Regions from separate parts of the Homo sapiens genome. Here regions 1, 2 and 3 are each linked to region 4. The links are contacts of gene promoters, found by promoter capture Hi-C in human tissues and cell types (Jung and others, 2019). All regions are on one chromosome and are shown on one strand. The core of a region is centred on a gene start or on the middle of the fragment in contact, and the rest is flanking DNA. Distances in the headings are between cores, read along the strand shown.

Region 1 (4,775 bases), core at 1,503-4,002, 1.0 Mb before region 4:
AGCAGTGACATGTTATATCTGATCGTTGGCTGTGTGCTGGGCGTCATGGTCCTCATTCTGATGGTTTTCATTGCAATGTGCCTGTGGAAGAATCGCCAGCAGAATACCATACAAAGTAAGTCACTCATAAATATCTCCTTCTCTTTTTCTAAAGGTGGGTAGACAAATATTGTCAGAATAAATATTGATTTCTAACACTGTTGTATATTAGTGTCATGGTATGAAACACATTAGATACTCTTCATTCAGAGGAGATGACTTTAAAACTGTTCTAGCTGTCAGCCAGAGTAAGTGGAGCATCAAATTAAATTGCCCAGCAGACATAAACACCAAAGCCAAAACTAAGCAGGTCTCTAAGTAAATAGCTGACTTATTGCTGGGAAACTCCGGCTTTGTTGGACCACCAAAGAGGACGCATATTTGAAGCCTGAGCTCTGGAATTGCTGTAGGAACACCTTTACACTGGTACAGAGCTTGTCAACAGGGAATAGAAAAGCCATGATGGAAAGCAGGTAGTGAAAACTTGTCTAAGTCACTGTCACTGAATGACACTTCACCGATGAGGATAACGCAGCCCTGTTTCTGTACCTGATGGACTCAAGACTGCTCCAGCATGGCGTCCTCTCCCTGGAGTGTGTCTAGGAATACGTGTGCTTGAACATCGATGATGGCCCTGCTTTGAAATAACAGTGAAGTAACCTAGAACCCCCTTTCTCTTTTCTCTTCCTTCAGTTCTCTTCACCTCACTGTCCTACTTTTCCTGTTATCTCAGCTATTATAAAATAGGGTAATCAAATCAAGCAGAGAGTTTAGTCTTTGGTGGGAGGAAGTTTTTTGGTTTCCCCTTTGGCTCCAGAATAAGGAAATGAAAGAAAAGTGAGGGAGGACCCCAGCAGGCACTTCCAGTGGCTGTTAGCCAGTTCTCACGCATGCTCCCCTTTTAGTTACCAGTTCTGGGGGAAGAAAGTACTCTGTTTGTATTGAATGATGCCTTCCAAGAGATAGGGGGAGAGATGGTGGCTGCATCAGGCTGAAATGGATGGTGATCATTTGATTTTCTAAGTGGTTTTAATGCCATCGCCTTTAATTGTGTGAGTGCGTGTTGAATCATGAAAAGAGAAGTATTAATCTGAAAGGGATGGTGATCATTTGATTTTCTAAATGGTTTTAATGCCATTGCCTTTAATTGTGTGAGTGCGTGTTGAATCATTAAAAGAGAACATTAATCTGGTCGTCCCAGCCATATTAATCAGATTAAAGTCATCCTACTTTGTGACCTGATAATGTTTAAAAATGGAAAATTCTCATGGTGGTGTTCATTCAGTCATTTATTCAAAAGATAATCATCGTCTTCTGTATACCAGGCACTGTTCTGGACAGTGGAGATGTAATGGTAAATAAAATAAACACCACCTCTGCCCTCTCAAAGTGTGTAGCTTAGTGAGACCACAAGCAGGTGTACTGAGACTACACACCTGGGCGAGAGCACACAGTAATGTGGGCAGCTAAGGAAAGGAGGGACACCTAATCCAGCCTTGGCAAGCTCTCCTACCTTCGAAGAATTTATCCAGACTCCAACAACAAATCCTGTACAGTTTGGACACTCTAGTTTCTAAGAGATACTTTACTTTTTCTAAATATATCTGGTAGATGTGCCTCTGGAAATCAGTTTTGAGGCAGTCATTTGTATGCTTTTAATAGAAGAAAATAGAAGGCTGGGCGGAGTGGCTCACGCCTGTAATCATAGCACTTTGGGAAGCCGAGGTGGGCGGATCACGAGGTCAGGAGATCGAAACCAACCTGGCTAGCACGGTGAAACCCTGTCTCTACTAAAAATACAAAGAATTAGCCGGATGTGGTGGCACGCACAAGCTACTTGGGAGGTTGAAGCAGGAGAATTGCTTGAACCCGGGAGGCAGAGGTTGCAGTGAGCCAAGATCACGCCATTGCACTCCAGCCTGGGCAACAAGAGCGAAACTCCATCTCAAAAAAAAAAAAAAAAAAAAAAAAAAAAAAGAAAATAGAATCACTTTTTGCCTTTGGTACTCCACACCTTCCAAATTGGCTGTAATGACTAAGGAGCTATATGAATGATCAGTGACTGTATATACAACTCCATCCTTTTACTTAACAGAGTTGTTTATTGCTACTTGAAATACCCCACCTAAAGCTAGTCTTTTGTTGTCATTTTATGCAGTTTTTTTCAGCACTTAGAAGTATAATATATAGGAGTTTAAGCACTTTTTCCTAGTATTGCCAGTACTCTGATAGTTTCAGCTTGCCCAATATATTCATTCTCTTTTGAGTAATTTCTCCCTAGGTGATTTTTCTTCCCGTTAACAGAATCATAATTAACTCAGAGTTCACAGCTATCTCTACACTCTATGGAAAATAATAGCAGTAACTTTATTAAAGCATGTCTTACAAGTAGGCTTTAAGTGAACATTTTAAAAATGTTTTTATTTTAGTCTATTTGTAGTTTCGTAGGGGTTTTATCTGTAAGACCTTCTCAGCAAGAAGATTGTCCTTTTTAGTGTCTTACTGTGTGCGTGTGTGCGTGTGTGCGTATGTGCATGTGTGCATGCGTGTGTGCGTATGTGCATGTGTGCGTGCGTGTGTGTGTGTGCGTGTGTGTCTTTTTTGTTCTCTTTTAACAGAATATGACCCACCAGGATATCTCTACCAAGGATCAGATATGAACGGGCAGATGGTGGACTACACCACTCTCTCAGGAGCAAGTCAGATAAATGGAAATGTTCACGGAGGCTTCCTAACCAATGGCGGTCTCAGCAGTGGCTATTCCCACCTTCACCATAAGGTCCCCAATGCAGTCAATGGAATTGTGAATGGGAGCCTAAATGGAGGGCTTTACTCCGGGCACAGCAACTCTCTAACCAGGACACACGTGGATTTTGAACATCCTCATCATCTAGTGAATGTAAGAGACCTAACTATAAATAAAAGCCCCTCTGTCCCTCAGGGTGCCAAGTACTAGAACAGGGACAGCATGCTTGGCTTTGTTCAGTATAGAAACCTCACAAGTTTCCTCGAATGGAAACAGCATGGATCACTGGCAGCCCTTTGATCCAGAGTAGTCTTTGTAAGTTGTTTTCTATTGCCAGGTAATAGTTATGTTCATCAGTTTAGTTTCATTTTAAAATTATTTAACACTGAAAGTGGAATACCAGCAGTGAACAGACTGGAAGTTGTTCTTTAGATGAAATGGAAATACCAAATACTTTAAATTTGATTTATCGAGAGCAGGGTCTTGAAAATGCAAATGCCGAAAAGAGTCAGGCAGATCAGGAAATTGTGGGAGTGAGATGGTAGCACTGGAGGCGATGGCCACCTGGAGAGCACAGACAGTGTCTTCAGGAAGCAGCCGCGGTTTGACACTTACAGTCGTCATGGACTGAGGGCGCAGTGTTGCCAAATTTTCTGATTTTTCAAAACCTCTGTAAATCCAAGTGAAATTGACAGATTTTTACATGCTGGCACCTAATTCAAATTTTTGAAAACATACGTAGGCCATGCCAAACATCTCTGCAGGCCACCGGGTTGTGACTTCTGACCTTTCATGGGCTTCTTTTGTTTGTTTTGCCCAATATGTTTTGTTGTTGTGGCTGGTAAGCTTTTTACATTTTACAATGTTAGTATTCTTTAGCCACACAAAGAGTGATAAACCCTTAAGACAACCTTATTTCAGAGATAACTAGTTGATAGCGTTTAATTTTTGAAATGGTAGTAGAATGACTAGCATATTTTAGACTTACGTGGGGTTCTCTGCACTAGAAAGTTTGATTTATGACATTGTTTGGATGCACATCTATATTACTTTTGATCAAATAGATAATTTGTTTAATTGATGGAATTAAGCATTCAGTTTTTGTCATTGTTCTGATTACAAATAAATTTACCATGACCCACAATGTGCTACAATTTGAAGAAGCTTAGAGTTTTTTTTCCCCCCATCTTCAGTTTATTAAAGATTTATTAAAATCTATTTGGAGAACAAAACTAATATATACTCATATTTTAAAGCTAGAAATTGAATAGCTTTTATGTGACCTAGCTTTTGTATGTTGTGGAAGAAATATTAATTTGCTTTAATGCATCTCATTACTAAAAGAGAATCATGATTTCACTATTTTGTGTGGAAAGATACAGCATGTATTCAGACTTTCTAAGCTTTTTTGGTCACCATTCCTAGTCCAAACTACTACCATTGTCCAAGAAAACTGAAGGAGAGAGCATTAACATTTGAATAGCACACACTGTTTCCATAAGAAGAAAACATAAGGCCCATGTTCGCTTTAGTGTTTGAACACGGAACCTTGGGTTTTTTGAACAATGAATTTCTATTTAAATAATAGGTGCCCCATTTGGTGTACAATGTCAGAAGTTATCTGTGATTCTAAATTATTCGTTTTCTTACTTTTCTGGGTGGGGGAAATAGAGAAATTTTAACAGTGTTAGTGACCCTAAAAATCATTGCACTAACTTCAACGTGTTGAGGGATTCAGAGAATCCGTAAGTCACAACGTTACCCTGCAGGTTGTGAACTTCATTTTCTGAGCCTTTCAGGTTTTCCCTCAGATGGAATATAGTATAGGAGAGTTCTTTCTCTCGATATGTTCTTAATAATTCCTGTTGCTGGTTGGATCAGAAACACTGAAGGAAATTTTCAGGACTTTTGGTTTGCTTAGATTCTGGCTACTGTTATGAAATGAATGGAAATGGAAAGTATTCTAGGAAAAACAATTGCCTGAACTTTT
Region 2 (4,822 bases), core at 294-2,793, 1.8 Mb before region 4:
AAGCTGTCATAGATGGCTCGCAGACAGAAGGGGGTGAGGGATGGGTTCCCATAATGCTTTAGCTACCAGAACAGCAGCCCGATTCAGCCAGTTTGCTGACCCCTGCTATAGAGCATTCTAGGCATTGAGACTCGCATCTCATCTCCCAATCAAAGCAAAGGAGTGAGGGAGCCTTCATTCTTTTTGAGTCAAAAGGCATAGGTTAAGAAAATGAAGATAGGTTGGGGACTTACCTGTCTCTTCCAGTCCCCATTCCAGCCACCCTTATAAGGGAGTTTTACATTTAGTGAGCATCTACCTGATACTGAGTAAGCACTCTCATATATATAATGAATTCCATCATCATTATTAACAACAGCCCAGTATTCACCTCTCTGTAGAGAATTTTTTTTAAAAAAGGTGGCTCATAGAAGTCAGTACCTGCCCTAAGGTCACAATGCTTACAGCAGAGCCAGATTAAAGTTTGATTTGTCACCGCCATTCATTCATCCACAAGAGCAGATTCCTCTTTGTGTGAAGGCCTAGTCAGCACCCCCAAACCTGCCCTAGAACAGCATTCCCCACACCCGCCTGGAGCTGATGGAGGCCTGAGCAATCATTCTCCACGCTCGCCCTGCTTCCTCTGCAGTATTTTCCTTCCCCACTTTTAAATGTCACGGAGCGTGATGCTGACACAATCAGACAGAATCCCCAGTCCAGACAGCCCCACAGCCAGGGGAGACACAACTCCGGTGCACGCTCACTAGGATACAATGGAAAAGTGCAATTCACTTTAAATAGATTCCCATAAATAAGCAATAAAACAAGAACAACCATTTGCAGTGAGCATTTCCAAGGTTTGATGAGCTAGGAGTTCGGACTGGGGGAAAAACAAAGAGCCTTTTTCATTATTTCCCCATCCCTGCAATTTTCTTTTACTGCCTGACGACTTTGAAAGGAAAAAAAACGAATGTGGCTCCCTTAGGGATGGAGCCCATGCTCCCATCTCCTGCTGCAACTTGCCAATTCAACTTCCAAGTTGTCCTAGTGTGACTGTGAGCTGTGCCGCTTCCCTCCGCCTCTTCAACCTGTGGCTGCCTGGGCCCCAGCTCCTTCCTCTACTGGCCTGCCCAGACTTCTGGCTTAAGTTTTGAGGGCCCGAGAAGACAAGGTGGGCAGACAGGGGTGGGATCTGGGGAAGGGGCAAGGACTAGGAGGCTGAGCCCGAAGGATCCTGGGTTTTAAAAAGGTGTATCTAGGTGTTCAGCGGAGTGGGGCTGCAGCCCAGGCCAGAGCCTGATTGGAAATGTGTCCGTTTCCACTCACTTTTTCTCTGCTACCAGATGCGACTTTATCACTAGAAGGTAATCCTGCCTCAATTTACATTAATGTAGAAGGCTACATACGCTATCACTGGTGGACAAATGAGATTTTCCCTTCGGAAACTCAGCCTGATTTGAGGCTTCCTCTGACTATGGGTGTGTGTGTGTGTGTGTGTGTGTGGTCACAGGCACTCACATGCATGTGCATACAGATGTAACACACTTATGTGTTCCCCTGCCATGACTTGCACGCTTTTACGGCATGCCGGCAGAGTCTCTTTCTCTCCTTGTTGACTTTCAGATGCATTCTTCATCTCCTGATAGCCAGTTTTTTTGTTGTTTTTTTGTTTGTTTGTTTGTTTGTGTTTGAGACAGAGTCTCACTCTGTCACCCAGGCTGGAGTACAATGGCGCAATCTCAGCTCACTGCAACATCTACCTCCCAGGTTCAAACAATTCTCCTGCCTCAGCCTCCTGAGTAGCTGGGATTACAGGTGCGCGCCACCACGCCCGGCTAATTTTTTTTGTATTTTACTGGAGACAGGGTTTCGCTGTGTTGCCCAGGCTGGTCTCAAACTCCTGATCTCAGGCAGTCTGCCTGCCTTCGCCTCCCAAAGTACTGGGATTACAGGCGTGAGCCACAGTGCCTGGCCCAGCACAGCTGAATTTAACTGCACTCACTCATCTATCTGCAGTCACCTGGAGGGTCACCTAGAGGGTGGCTGGTCTAGGATGGCCTCACATGTCTGTTTTCCAAGGGCGTGAGCAGGAGCATGCAAGCTTCTTGAGGTCTTGGCTCAGCACCAGCACAGCCTCGCTTCCACCACAGGCTATGGGCCAAAGCAAGTCACCAGGCCAGCTCAGATCCAAGGGATGGGAAAGCAGTCTCCACCTGTTGGTGGGAAGAGCTGCAGAGTCACATTGCAAAGCGGGTAGATCCAAGGAGGGGTCACCTGTCCCTAGTAATCAACATCCTACTTTCTGTTTTTTCTATGAATCTGACCATGTTAGACCCTCATAGATGTGAAGTCATACAATATTTGTCCTTTTGTGACTGGCTTGTTTCACTTAGCGTAATGTCTTCAAGGTTCATCTATGTTGTAGCATATGGAAGGTTTTCCTTCCTTTTTAAAGCTGAAGAATATTCCATTGTATGTATATGCTATATTTTGTTTATCCATTCATCATTGATGAATACTTGGGTTGTTTCCACCTCCTTTTTTTTTTTTTTTTTTTTTTTTTTTTGAGACAGAGTCTTGGTCTGTCACCCAGGCTGGAGTGCATTGGTGCAGTCTTAGCTCACTGCAACCTCCGCCTCATGGGTTCAAGTGATCCTCCTGCCTCAGCCTCCTGAGGAGCTGAGACTACAGGTGTGTGCCACCACACCCAGCTAATTTTTGTATTTTTAATAGACGCAGGGTTTCTCCATGTTGGCCAGACTGGTCTCGAACTCCTGACCTCAAGTGATCTTCCTGCCTTGGCTTCCGAAAGTGCTAGGATTACAGGCCTGAACCACCGTGCCCAGCCTATTTCCACCTCTTAGCTATTTATTGTGAATAGTGTGGCTGTGAACGTGGGTGTGCGAATCGACACCCTGCTTTTAATGTTTCTGGATGTCTACTCAGAAGTGGAACTGCTGCATCAGATGGTGGTCCTATTTTTAATTTTTTAAGGAACCTTCATTGTGTTATCCATAGCAGTTGCACCATTTTACAACACCACCAACAGTGCACAAGGGTCCCAATTTCTCCACGCTCTTACCGACATTTGCTATATTCTGGCTTTTCTCTATAGTGGCTATCGTAATGGGTGTGAGGTGATACCTCACTATCATTTCGATTTGCAAATCTCTGATGATTAGTGATGTTTAACATCTTTCCATATGCTTCTTGGCCATTTGTAAATCATCTTTGGAGAAATGTCTATTCAAGTCCTTTTCCCATTTTTTTTAAATCTGGTTATTTGATTTTTTATTGCTGTATTTATGTATTTCTCTTCAGTACTATAATAAACATTCTTTAAATTACCAAACAAACAAGAAAACTAGAGTAGCAACATCAATCTTCAATGCATCCTTTCTCTTCCTCTACCCAAAGTAACTAAGCACTTTCTCGAATCTTATGTTCATCATTGACTTGCTTTCCCTTTTTTCAAACAAAGTTTTACTACTGCTACATATATTTTTTTTAAAAAAAGAAGAATTTTCAGTTTGGATTTATTTTAACCGTCTACAAAGGGTATCATGCAATATGCATTCTTCTGAGACTTTTTGCACTTGAATTCTGCTGCTAAAACTAATTCATATTGTTGCATGGGACTATTGTTCATTCATTTTGACTGAGGTTTATTATTCCATTAAATAGGCACACCACAATATATTGATCCAGTCTCCTGTCAGAGAACATTTGTATTGCCCCCAAGTTTTGCTTTATATAAATAGTGCTGAAATGACCGTTCTCATACATGTCTGCTGGTATACGTGAGAGAGAGTTGCCCTTGTCTGACTTCCTAAGAGTGGGATTGATGGATGATGGAGCATTTGAATGATCAACTTTACGAGATCATGACAAAGTGGCTGTACAATTTCTCCTTCCCATCAGCACTGCACAAAACCTTCTGCAGATCCACACTCCCTCCAACACCCGATATTGTCATACTTCCATACTCTTAACAGCCGAGTGGGTGAGATTGGTATCTCTTGTGCCCTTGATATGCATTTCCCTGATCATTAATGAGGTTGAACATCCCATCATATGTTTATTGACCATATGTGTTTCTTTAATCCAAATAAGAACTTCTGTTCATCAAGACACTGCAAAGAAAGTGTAAAACAAGTTAGAAACCAAGGCAAGTTCTTTGCCACACACGTAACTGACTTCGCACAGTGTGAAGAGCATATACAAGAGCACAACTCACTTCCTAGGAAAATGGGTAAAAGAAATGACAAGGATTTCACAGAAAATCCCCCAGTGCTTACTGTGGGCCATAAAGGTGCACTTGTATTCACGACAGCAGCTACTGGTAAAGATTCCTCGACATCAGATAAAAGCTTCTTTATTGTAGACGAAACTTTCTAAGGCCTTGTCCTTAGCTGGTTCAGGGATTAGTCAGCGAAGCCTGCATTCCCTCTTTTGCCAACTGGAGAATTCACCTGAGTCCACAGAAGGTGTTCACAGTGACAAAAACTCCAAGCCCAAGATGCTCTCACAGATGGTTACCTAGGGACACCCAGAAAACCCCAAAACATAAGGCACAAAACCGTCATCCTTCCCCAAAGAACCAGGTAACATTTTCCCAACCAGAGCCCTTCTAGGTTAATCCCAGGGGAAGGGAGGTGACTTCCCATCATTATCCATCCACTGAGGGAAGGGGGATTATTTTTCTTGCCCTAAAACTGCTCTGAAACTAATGGGAAAAAAAAAAAAAACCCCTGCTTAGAACTAATTTCTTTCAAACATTCCCTGGAGCCAAAGAAATGGTTAAGTATTTAGGCTTCAAAGAATTTCCCTGCTGGGGTGTGGG
Region 3 (4,902 bases), core at 1,069-3,568, 1.5 Mb before region 4:
CCCCAAGTATGAGGAGGTGGGGCCTTTAGGAGATGATCAGGTCATGGGGGTGGAGCTTCATAAATGGGATCAGTGCCCTTACAAAAAAGAGGCCTGAGGGAGACCCCTTGTCCCTTCCACATTGTGAGGACACAGTGAGAAGAGGGCATCTATGAACCAGGTGTCTGTCCCTCAACAGACAACAAATCTGCGTTGATCTTGGACTTCCCGGCCTCCAGAACAGTGAGAAATAAATGTCTGTGGTTTATAAGCCGCCCAGTTTATATATCTTGTTATAGCAGCCCAGCTGGGCTAAGACAGATGCCCAGTTAAATTTGAGTTTCAGAAAAATAATAACTTTTTAATGTAAGTATCTTCCAAATACTGCATTGGACATACTCACAAGCCATACTTATACTAAAGAAGACAGTCATTATATATCTGAAATTCACATTTAACTGAGTATCCTGTATTTTATTTGCTAAATCTGGCCACTTTCCAGGGCTGCCAGGTGAAGCCGTTTAGGCTCCACCATCTCCAAGGTGCCTGGCTCAGGGGCCAGGGAGGGCTGAAATCCAGCCCATGATCCCTTACCCAACAGCCCTTGCCCTGCTGTGTCTACCAACAGGGGTTCTGGTCTCTAATTCACACACGATACCAAGGGCTGGAAGCACCCTGAACTGGCCCCCGTATTAATTGTGTCTTTAAAATGTTGTGTATTTTATGATGCTTTGACATCTGGGGCCTTGCAGACCCAGGGAAGGACCAGGGTAAGCTAATTCCTGGAGATAGCAAGCAGGCTTTATATCAAAGCAGACCAACCAATCCAGAGCCCAGGCCCCCACAGCCTTTTTTCATCAGGCTCCATAGTCCAGGACATTATACCCCTACCCTAAATCTCCCCAGGGCCACACATCAGACCACCCCTACAGCTCAGGGCCCAGGGAAATTATTCAAGCTATCCAATCCTAAACCTGCTGAGCCACCAACCCTACCTCACCATTCCTTCCTATGAAAGCAAGCCACAACAGAGGCTGTGCCCACACTCTCCCCACACCTCCCACCCCAGCCCCAACTGACCCTGGGGCCTCCCCTTCCTCTGGGAACTATGAGTAGCAAACTGTCTTTTCTTTTTTTCTTTCTTTTTTTATTTTTTATTTATTTTATTTATTTATTTATTTATTTTGAGACAGAGTTTCACTCTTGTTGCCCAGACTGGAGTGCAATGGCGTGATCTCAGCTCACCGCAACCTCCACCTCCTGGGCTCAAGTGATTCTCCTGCCTCAGCCTCCAGAATAGCTGGGATTGCAGGCGTGTGCCATCATGCCCAGCTAATTTTTTTTTCTTTTTTTGTATTTTTAAAAGAGACGGGGTTACTCCATGTTGGTCAGGCTGGTCTCAAACTCCCGACCTCAGGTGATCCACCTGCCTCAGCCTCCCAAAGTGCTGGGATTACAGGACTGAGCCACTGCGCCCGGCCGCAAACTGTCTTTTCAACGGCAGTTGTCTCCTGATCTGTTGGCCTCCCTCTACCTGAATAAAAACAAAATTCTGGGTACATTTTTAAACAGCCCCCACCAAACTCCACTCAACAAAACTGTGCATAGAGTCCCAGATGGGGTTAATGTACCACAGAGCCTCTAAGATGAATGAGGCCTTACAGTATACCTGGGCCAACCTCTTTTGTCTGCAGCTAGAAAATTGAGGCCTGGTGGGGAAGTGACTGTCCTTCTCAGTGGTGGAGTGGGCAGTGCCAGGCCTGGAACCACAATTCCTGACACCCTGGCCTCTGCCCTTGCCCATGCTCCTCCTAGGGCAAGCCGGTCCCCCAAGCTCCGCAGCTGGGGGCCCAGCCTCCAGAACGCCCGCTCGCCTCAGGTCTGAGGGTTTTCCTTGTCCTCAGAGACTGGGGAAATACACGGCCTGGTTCCCCCTACCCACCAGTCCTCTAAGCAATCCTGGAAAGATAAGCAGGGCCTTGGTCATCCGAGGATGTGAGGCAGGCCCGTCCCCACTCTGAGGGTGTGTCTTTCCTGTCCCAAACTGACCACCTGCCAAGAGGTCACTCCAGGGCTGCCGATCAAAGAACCCAGCACCTGGTGCCAGAACCCAGGGCAAACTCCTTCCCTCAGACACAAGTCCAGGGGGAGGGAGGGATGGCTGCCTCTTGGAAGACAAGCCTCTCCCTTATGTCCTGGGCTGAAGCCACCCTGTCCTGTTATGTAATACAAGGATATAACACAGAGAGAGAGTTGTCCAGAGGAGAATGAAAAGGAAGGATAGGGGCTTTCCTTCCAGTCTGAGCACCTGTCCTGTCCCTCCCTGAACTTGGGCCAGCCTGGACCCTAGCAGAGTCAATGTCCTGCAGAGGACACATGCCATCAGGTGGAGAGAGAGGTCAGGGTCACTCTGCTGGACCTGTCCCAGGATCACCTTGAGCTCAACATGTCATCCTTGTCTACATTGTGAAGGCCCCTCGGAGAGCCTGGTACCATACTACTGCACAGCAGGGCGGGGGACCCGATCCATGCTCCTGGGCCTGTGACGGGAACGGCAGCGCCAGGCAGTCGCAGGCCTGGGTTCCAGCTTCCACTGCATAACCTCAGGCAACTCACTCCCTGGGCATCTGTTTCCTCGTCTGCAAAATGAAGGTGTTGGATCAGACGCTCCGGAAGAGAAACAGATTCCTCAGGGGACAGTCACCTCAGATGGTCTCCTGCCCCTCTGTGGCTTGTCCAGGGAGCAGCAGAGGCCTGAGACCCTCAATGTGTCCCTGGACATGAGCATGGGAAGAGGCCCTGTGTCCCAAGGCAAGGCACTTCATTTCTCTGGGCCTCTCCTCCAAACCATGGTCATCCACCATCCTAACTGTCCACCCCACGGCCAGTGGTTCTCATGGAGACCAAAGGGGTGACCAGCAGAGCCCGCACACGTCAGTGGAGCTTCCCCAGGCACGGGGCTGTGTGCCGGGCAGGGAGAAGCTACAAGCCTGTGATGTGGAGTATACCCAGTAGGTTACACAATCCAGGGCTCCTATGGAGCAGGCTCTGGGGGCTGTCCGAGCCAACCCCTCTGCTTCCCCTCCCAGGGACCCAGCCCACCCCCTCCTCCCCCAGGGCTGCAAGGAGCCCTGCCATAGGCCAACAGCACTCCTGACTTCCCCAGAGAGGCTACATATGAGGAGGGGCCAGAGCATCAGCCGCAGAGAGGAAGAGAAGCTGGGAGCACACACAAAATCAGGCAGCCTCCAAGGACCCCAGAAAAGACCCCTCAGGGCAGCCCTGGCTGCTGTCGGGTCTGACGCCCTCAGTGGCTGTCACATGGTGGATGATTATCCCCGTGGGCTCAGGAGCTGGCAGCCTGAATTTGGATCCGGGCTCTGCCACCTTCCAGCTGCGTGACCTCACCTTGCCGTGCCTCCCTGTCCTTGCCATACAATGGGAACGACAGCAGCACCCACTTTAAGGGGTGCTTGTGAGGAGTTGAATGAGAAACACGCCTGGCACATAGCGAGCTTGCAACAAGCACTGCTGTTGGGATTGTCACCCCCTCACTGGATCCACACGGCTGCAAGGTCCACCCCACTATGGACCTCGCGTTTCCCATATGCAGACATCGGTGTCATAGTTAGGCTGGCCACATGGTTCTGAAGGCCTAGCTCAAACCTGGGATCCGTAACATAACATGGTGATGTCACCCTCTGCCTCAGTTTCCCCAGCTGCAAAATGCAGTGATAATGATCACGGATGTCTGTTAGGGTTGCAGAGTGACTTACAAGAAATTATGCATCAGAAGCACCCTGTCAAGGGCAGGAGTAAGGACTGGATAAATGTGAGCTACTATTATTGGCTCCTGTCCCACAGGGGGAACCCCAGTTCCCTGCCCCAGGGGTCATACAGCTATTTCATAAAACACCAGGCCTGTTCTCAAAGTTTCTGGGTTGCTCACCGACCATTCTCTCTGTGACTCCACCATGGGACCAGTAGGGGAGGGATGAGCCTCAGCCCTGGAGGGCACCAGGCCCCTTCCCCAGGAGGAAGGGCAGGAGAGGAAGCACCCAGTCCCTCCCCCAGCACAGGCTGGCCATGCTTCTCCTTAACAGGCCACTGTCACAGCCTCCAGGGTGCAGGGCGAGCCACACTGCCGGATGGGGCCTTGGGCAGTGCCCACTGCAGGCTCCCAGCGGGTGTCGGCTGCAGAGGCACAGAGCAGGAAAAGGCCCCTCCAAGCTTCTTCCTGGAGACTCAACCCTGGGCTGTCTGGGGACAGTGGGTTCCTTCCCTGTTCCTCATACTTCTGAGGGCCTGGCGCCAGAGTGGAGACCACATTCTTTCTTCTGGAAAGCCCCCAAGTCCACACAGCAGGGGAGGAAGGATGGGTTACGGAAGAGGAGGGGCGAGAGGACAGGCTGAGCCCAGAAAGAACCCTTCCTAAGTGCAGCTTCCTGCCAGGCAGGAGGGTTGCAAGGTCTTAGCACGCACAGTCGTGTCTGTGTCTGCTTGGAGCCCCTTGCCCTCTACCCCTACCACCAGGACCACTGGCCTCGCCTTTTACCACCTTTGCTAAGAGGAGCTCTGGAGACCCCACTCAGGAAAGGGATAAGTGCCCACATGCATAGGGCCCTCACCCTCCACTGGGCACCCCCTCCCTGGTCACTCACCCATCACCCTGCACCTATCTGCCCAGCTTAGGGGCCTAGAGTCTCCACTGGGTGTGGCCGAGGCTCATCCTGGCCTTCTCTGTGAAGGGCACCCCTCTGGCCTCTGGCCTCAAGGCTGGATGCAGGGACTGGGGCAAAAAGCACTGCGCATCCTCCACCTGGCCCACACACCCTTATTCAAGCCAGGTGGCAACCAGCCCATGGGGAGCCCCAAGCAGCTATCAAAAGGGGAAGCAGAGCCATGATTTTTTAAAAAAAAAAA
Region 4 (5,000 bases), core at 1,450-3,949:
GAATTCCCAAGGGATGCCTCATATGTGTCCACAAACTGTGGCCTCACTCCCTTGCTTGCTCCCCCAACCCCCAGTTGTCCAGCTGCTTGAGAAGCCCTCTAAAGGAACTAAGGCAAGGGCTTATCCATTCAATATTTGCCAACTGCCTATTGAGCACCTACTATGTGCCTGCCCCGTATTCGGTACTATAGACAGAGAGACAAATAAGACAGCTCTTAAATCAAAGAGCTCTCTGTTTCTTAGGAGAGAAAGGCACATAAGTAGATGATTATAAGTTTCTAAAGGCCTACTCAGTCGCTGGAAGCAAGATTGCAAAATTACTCCTCATACATTCCAACGTACAAAGGAAAGGGAAGGCCTTTATGTCTTTGTAGTTGCTGTGATCTTCCACATGAACCTCTCACCGCCCCCAGGGTAGCAGAGGAAAATATCACTCCATCTCAGTAAGCCCAGTCTGATCCAACCATTTTCACACTGTCTTTAGGTAGCTCAGTCTCTGCTTGGACAGCTCAGGCAATTGCTCAAGCAGTCTTTCCAATGTCCTCTCCCAATCCCAGCTCCTCTCTAATAAGAGTTGGGGTAAATATACATGGTGTGGCTGAAGTAACCTTGTGGCAACAGGGGGAGACAGTGTCTGTGGACCTGTGTGGTATTCTCAGGTTTCCCACCAGTCTCTACTCAGGGTCTACATTTTTTCCTGGCCTGATGAGCTACCTGAGGCTCCCACCACAGCAGTAGGTGGTCCCAGCTGTTGCCTCTGGCCTCAGAATCCCCGTACATGGCAGTGCCTTTGCTCAATCTTCTGTTTCCTGCCAGTTCTTTACCCTCTCGGCACTTCTGAGTCTCCTAAAGGGCTTCTGGACACCTAGAAGCCCTTGCAAATTCTGTGCAGGTATAAAGAGCCACCTCTGGGGCGGGGAAGTGGGGATATTGAGAACTTAGATCCTTTTAGTCTCCCTCTAGCACATTTTTCTTTCCACAGTGCTTCAGGATAACAAGGGCAGACTTCGGGCTTTCTATTTCCCAAACACTGCATCCTCCTTTTACTCCCATCCATAAGCCTCAAGGCCCAGCCATCACAGGCAAAGAGGCCATTTATCTACACTCCAGAAGGACTCTGTGATCCAGTCCACAGGCTGATCTATGATATGTCAAGGGGTAGATAAAAGAAATTAGAATGCTCTTTTGTCCCTTACAAAGACTGGCTAAGCCTTTCATCTTGCTATGGACTTTGAAATGCTATTTTAAATGTCAGAAGCTGAATATTGACTCTTTTTGTGTACCTGCTATAATAACATTACCTCTTCCAGTGGAAGAAAGGTGCCTTGAGTTGTCTAGGGAAAAGTCATAAACACAGAAATGCAAAAGGAAAAAAGAATCCCCTTTATATATTTCAGAATGTTTTCAGAGAGGTCTGTGAAGTTCAGTGCTTCCCAACTCTTCTCCCTCTGCCGAGGCTCAGAAGGGCTATGTAATAATGCTTCAGTTCTAGAAAGTTGACCTACTCAGGCTTTCTCCAGTATGTAAAAAGAATATTTAGAGAGATAATTGCTGCACTTACAAAACCAAGACCAGGGGTTAGGGATGACCAAGAAGGAAGTTGTGAAGTTTGGTCTCCCAAAAATATAAAGATCCCAGCATGAATGAAAAAAGAAACAAGGCAATTTTTAAAAAGTTTAAAACATCATCTCTGTAACAAAGGATTTGCTAGGTACTCTTCTGTACCAAATCTCCATCAACGCTCCCAACAATTCCCCTCAAGGAAGCTCTTCTTTTCCCCATTTTACAGATGAGAAATTGAAGGCTCAAAGAGGTTGCGAGCCCATCCCAAGATCACAGTTACTAGGCATCCATTCCCTTGGCCGCCCTCATGAAAAGGTGTGAACACATGAATGGGGGTCAGAGTAGAGCTAGAGTGTTTCTCCTCTTCACAGCCTCAAAACAGGAGGGCACAGCTAGGCTGTTAAGCTGGTAACAGAACCCTAGGATGCTGGCTGTTAGGAGATGACCTTCATTTTGCTCAGACATGTTCTAGAAAATTGCCTGAAAGCAGGGGAATGAACAGAGTGGCTTCTGGAAAGAGGTGTCCAGCATCTATGTGATTCTATGATAGAAGAGAAAATTCCAAGCCACGGAAAGACAAGTGTAACAATAATAGAATTCAAGCTGTTTTCCAGTCTTCTTCCTTTGGGATGGAACAGGGGTTTTCCATTTCTTCAGCAGTTGTCTGGAGTCTTTCACTTCCCAGCTTTTTAAAATCTCTTCTCCCTCCCTTTTCAGAGCTTATTGGAGGTCTGTCCTGGCATGTACCCTCCTCCTCAGGGAGAAGGAGTGTTAGGTGGAGACAGGGTAGGTTGGGACACAAAGTCCAGTTAAGTGTGTGTCCCAGCTCAGTGCTCTGAGCCCAGATCCTCATCTCCCTGGGTAGTGAGGCTCAGCACAGACAAGCAACCAACTGCTGGGCTGCCGGTGCCCCCCATGTTGGAACCTGAGTTGGAGATTATCTCCTAAGCAGATACCTGCTTCCAAACTGGGGATGTAGGGCTTGGAAACTAGAAAATGCCAGGTCTGAGGGAGAGGAAAGAACAAGTCCAGCAATACACAGAGCTCTGTGTATTCAGAGGGAAGTTGGCAGGGTTGTGTTCGGGCAGAGAAACTCCGAGTGGTACAAAGGGGACGTGCCCAGAGTGGAGAAATCATGCTAATTGTCTGCACTAGAGCTGGAGAACGCCACCCAAAATGAAGAGAGAAAGGGGAGCCCTGTCCAGAGCCTCCAGGGCCCTGCGCCTTGCTCCTTTTGTCTACCTTCTTCTGATCCAGACAGGTAGGAGGCCAGAGGGTAAGAAAGGGTCTGAAGAAAGGACCCGGGGCTTTTACAGCAGACGGAGGGGAGAGTGGAGGGCCTGAATGCCTTTGGGGCAGGAGTGGGGGAGAGTTCAGCTGCCGTGGGAAACATGTCAGGGAATTCAGGCATTAGCGTTGAACGTATTTCTTTATTTTGTGTGCCTCCCGCGCGGCCCCTACCCCCTTCCCCCAAAAGGCTGCATGACTTTGGAGCTCCCACGGCATTCAGTACATTAGATGGCGGGCACTGGGCCATTTCGTATGGGATGACTTGTTGGCGTGGGCCAGTCTGGCATTCTTTCCAAGGGATTGTGGTGGGGCTTGATGGGTAGGGGTAGGGGAAATTTTCTTTTTATACCTCCCCAGCCCCCGACTCTGGCTTCTCTGTGTGTAAAAGAGTAAGGCAGATGAAAGAAGCTTTGGAGATAATGAGCCTCCTAATGTGGGATAGTCATACCCACCTATCCATAATTCACTCCACTCCATAGCTGCTTACCTCCTCTACCGCCCCCTACCAATCCTTTGAGAAGTGATCTTATTTAAATATACCTATTTATGAGTACATACACATATACACACACACACACACACACAATTACAGAGCACCTAGGAATTCACAACTTAGTGAGGCAAACAGATGTGGAGATCATTTTACTAAACTGCAGGAACTATCATAAGTCAATTATGCAGAGAATGCATAGCAATCAGAGAAAGGTCACCTACCCCATCCAGGAAGCTGGTGCTGGTGGAGGGGGTGTTGGTAGGGTAGGACACAGGGTGTGGGAATATCAGGGGGAGGTTTTCTGGTAGAAGGAATGTGTGCACTGAATTTTAAAAGATGGGGAAAAAAGGTAGGAGTATAAGTGGGTGTTAGGGTTGGGAAATGAGCAAAGGTCAACAGCTTGAAATAACATCAAGTGTTTAGTCAGAGCCCAGCAGTTCATCACTGCTGGAGAGAAAAGCATGAATTGAGTGAGGCAAGAGCTTTGTAAACCAGACTCGTAATCTGGGGATTGAGAGGTGAGGGAATGAGCGGTTTTTAATTTGGGGACTGTCAGGGTTACATGTACCTTTCAGATAGCTTACTCAGTCTGCAGGGGGTCATTCGAGGGGAAACTGGAGGCAAATAAAATAAGAAAGGAAGTTTGTATTCATTTTCTAGGGCTCCTATAACAAAATACCACAAACTGAGTGGCTTAAACAACAGAAATGCATTATCTCAAAGTCGTGGAAGCCAGAAGTGGGAGATCGAGGTGTCAGCAGGGCCATGCTCTCTCTGAAGCTTCTAGGGAGGGCTCTGCCTTAGGGTTCTCTCCTAGCTTCTGGTAATTCCTTGACTTGTGGCAGCATCACTCCAGTCTTGGTATGGCATTCCCCGTGTTTGCATGTCTATGTCCACATTTCCCCTTTTTATAAGGACACATACTAGATTAGGTCCATCCTACTCCAGTATGATCCCTTCTTATTAGATCTGCAGTGACCCCATTGCCAAATAAGTTCACATTCTGAGGTACTTGGGGGTTAGGACTCCAACGTATGAATTTGAGGGGAACACAGGTCAAAAAGCTATTGCAATAGATCAAGAGAGAAATAGGAGAAATAACATGGACTGAAATTATAATAAAGATAGAAGGAATGAGGCATGTTGAGAAAATATTTTAGAGGTAAAGTCAGGAGCTAGTGACCTGTAGGAAGTAGGAGGATTTAGGAAGGGAAGGAGGATTGCTGTGTGAAACCTTAAACAAAAAAAATGAGTATCATACATGTTTAGATTGAAATACTTATGAGGCTTCCGTGTGAAGATGTCACATAGCCTGGAGTTGGGTGGCAGAGAGGTCAGGGTTGGAGAGAGGTATTTGGCAGCCGTTAGCCCATAGGTGAGAGTTAAAACAATAAGAATAGATAATATTACTTAGGAAGGGAAAAACGTGGGATGAAAATGAAACATCATGTAACCTCAAGATTTGTAGAGGAAGCAGAGGAAGAAATGCCCATTAAGGAGACAAAGAGAGAACAGCCAGAGAGACAGAAGGACTAGAAGCCTGTGGTGCTGTCCAGAAAATCAAGGGAGTTGAGAGTTTTCAGGAGTAGATCAATACCATTGAAGTTGTCAAAGAGATCCAATGTGACAAAGACCCAAAAGAGCCCATTGGATA

The links. Contacts are between HindIII fragments. The study calls those that stand out against the background at their distance.
Region 1: a fragment that was not itself captured here is called in contact with the fragment with the promoter of HEPACAM in region 4 in 1 of the 25 tissues and cell types used here (H1 embryonic stem cells).
Region 2: a contact is called between a fragment that was not itself captured here and the fragment with the promoter of HEPACAM in region 4, in 1 of the 25 tissues and cell types used here (psoas muscle).
Region 3: a contact is called between a fragment that was not itself captured here and the fragment with the promoter of HEPACAM in region 4, in 1 of the 25 tissues and cell types used here (hippocampus).

Annotation. Positions count from the first base shown.
Region 1 is chr11:125,979,212-125,983,986 of GRCh38, reverse strand. CDON (cell adhesion associated, oncogene regulated) reads left to right here. Exons shown (of 20, transcript NM_001378964.1): 16 at 1-115; 17 at 2,658-2,938. Among named protein-coding and RNA genes, the nearest start is that of VSIG10L2, 36 kb to the right of the region's middle. The HindIII fragment of the contact is 5,028 bases long and covers 239-4,775 here.
Region 2 is chr11:126,690,268-126,695,089 of GRCh38, reverse strand. The region is part of intron 1 of KIRREL3 (kirre like nephrin family adhesion molecule 3); the gene reads left to right. Among named protein-coding and RNA genes, the nearest start is that of KIRREL3-AS4, 40 kb to the right of the region's middle. The HindIII fragment of the contact is 3,345 bases long and covers 1-3,215 here.
Region 3 is chr11:126,467,634-126,472,535 of GRCh38, reverse strand. All of the region lies in intron 5 of KIRREL3 (kirre like nephrin family adhesion molecule 3), which reads left to right. Among named protein-coding and RNA genes, the nearest start is that of KIRREL3-AS1, 74 kb to the left of the region's middle. The HindIII fragment of the contact is 5,277 bases long and covers 1-4,902 here.
Region 4 is chr11:124,933,746-124,938,745 of GRCh38, reverse strand. It overlaps HEPACAM (hepatic and glial cell adhesion molecule), which reads left to right and starts at 2,699. Exons shown (of 7, transcript NM_152722.5): 1 at 2,699-2,824. The coding sequence starts at 2,740. The region is part of intron 1 of LOC107984406 (a long non-coding RNA gene); the gene reads right to left. The HindIII fragment of the contact is 7,366 bases long and covers 1-3,694 here.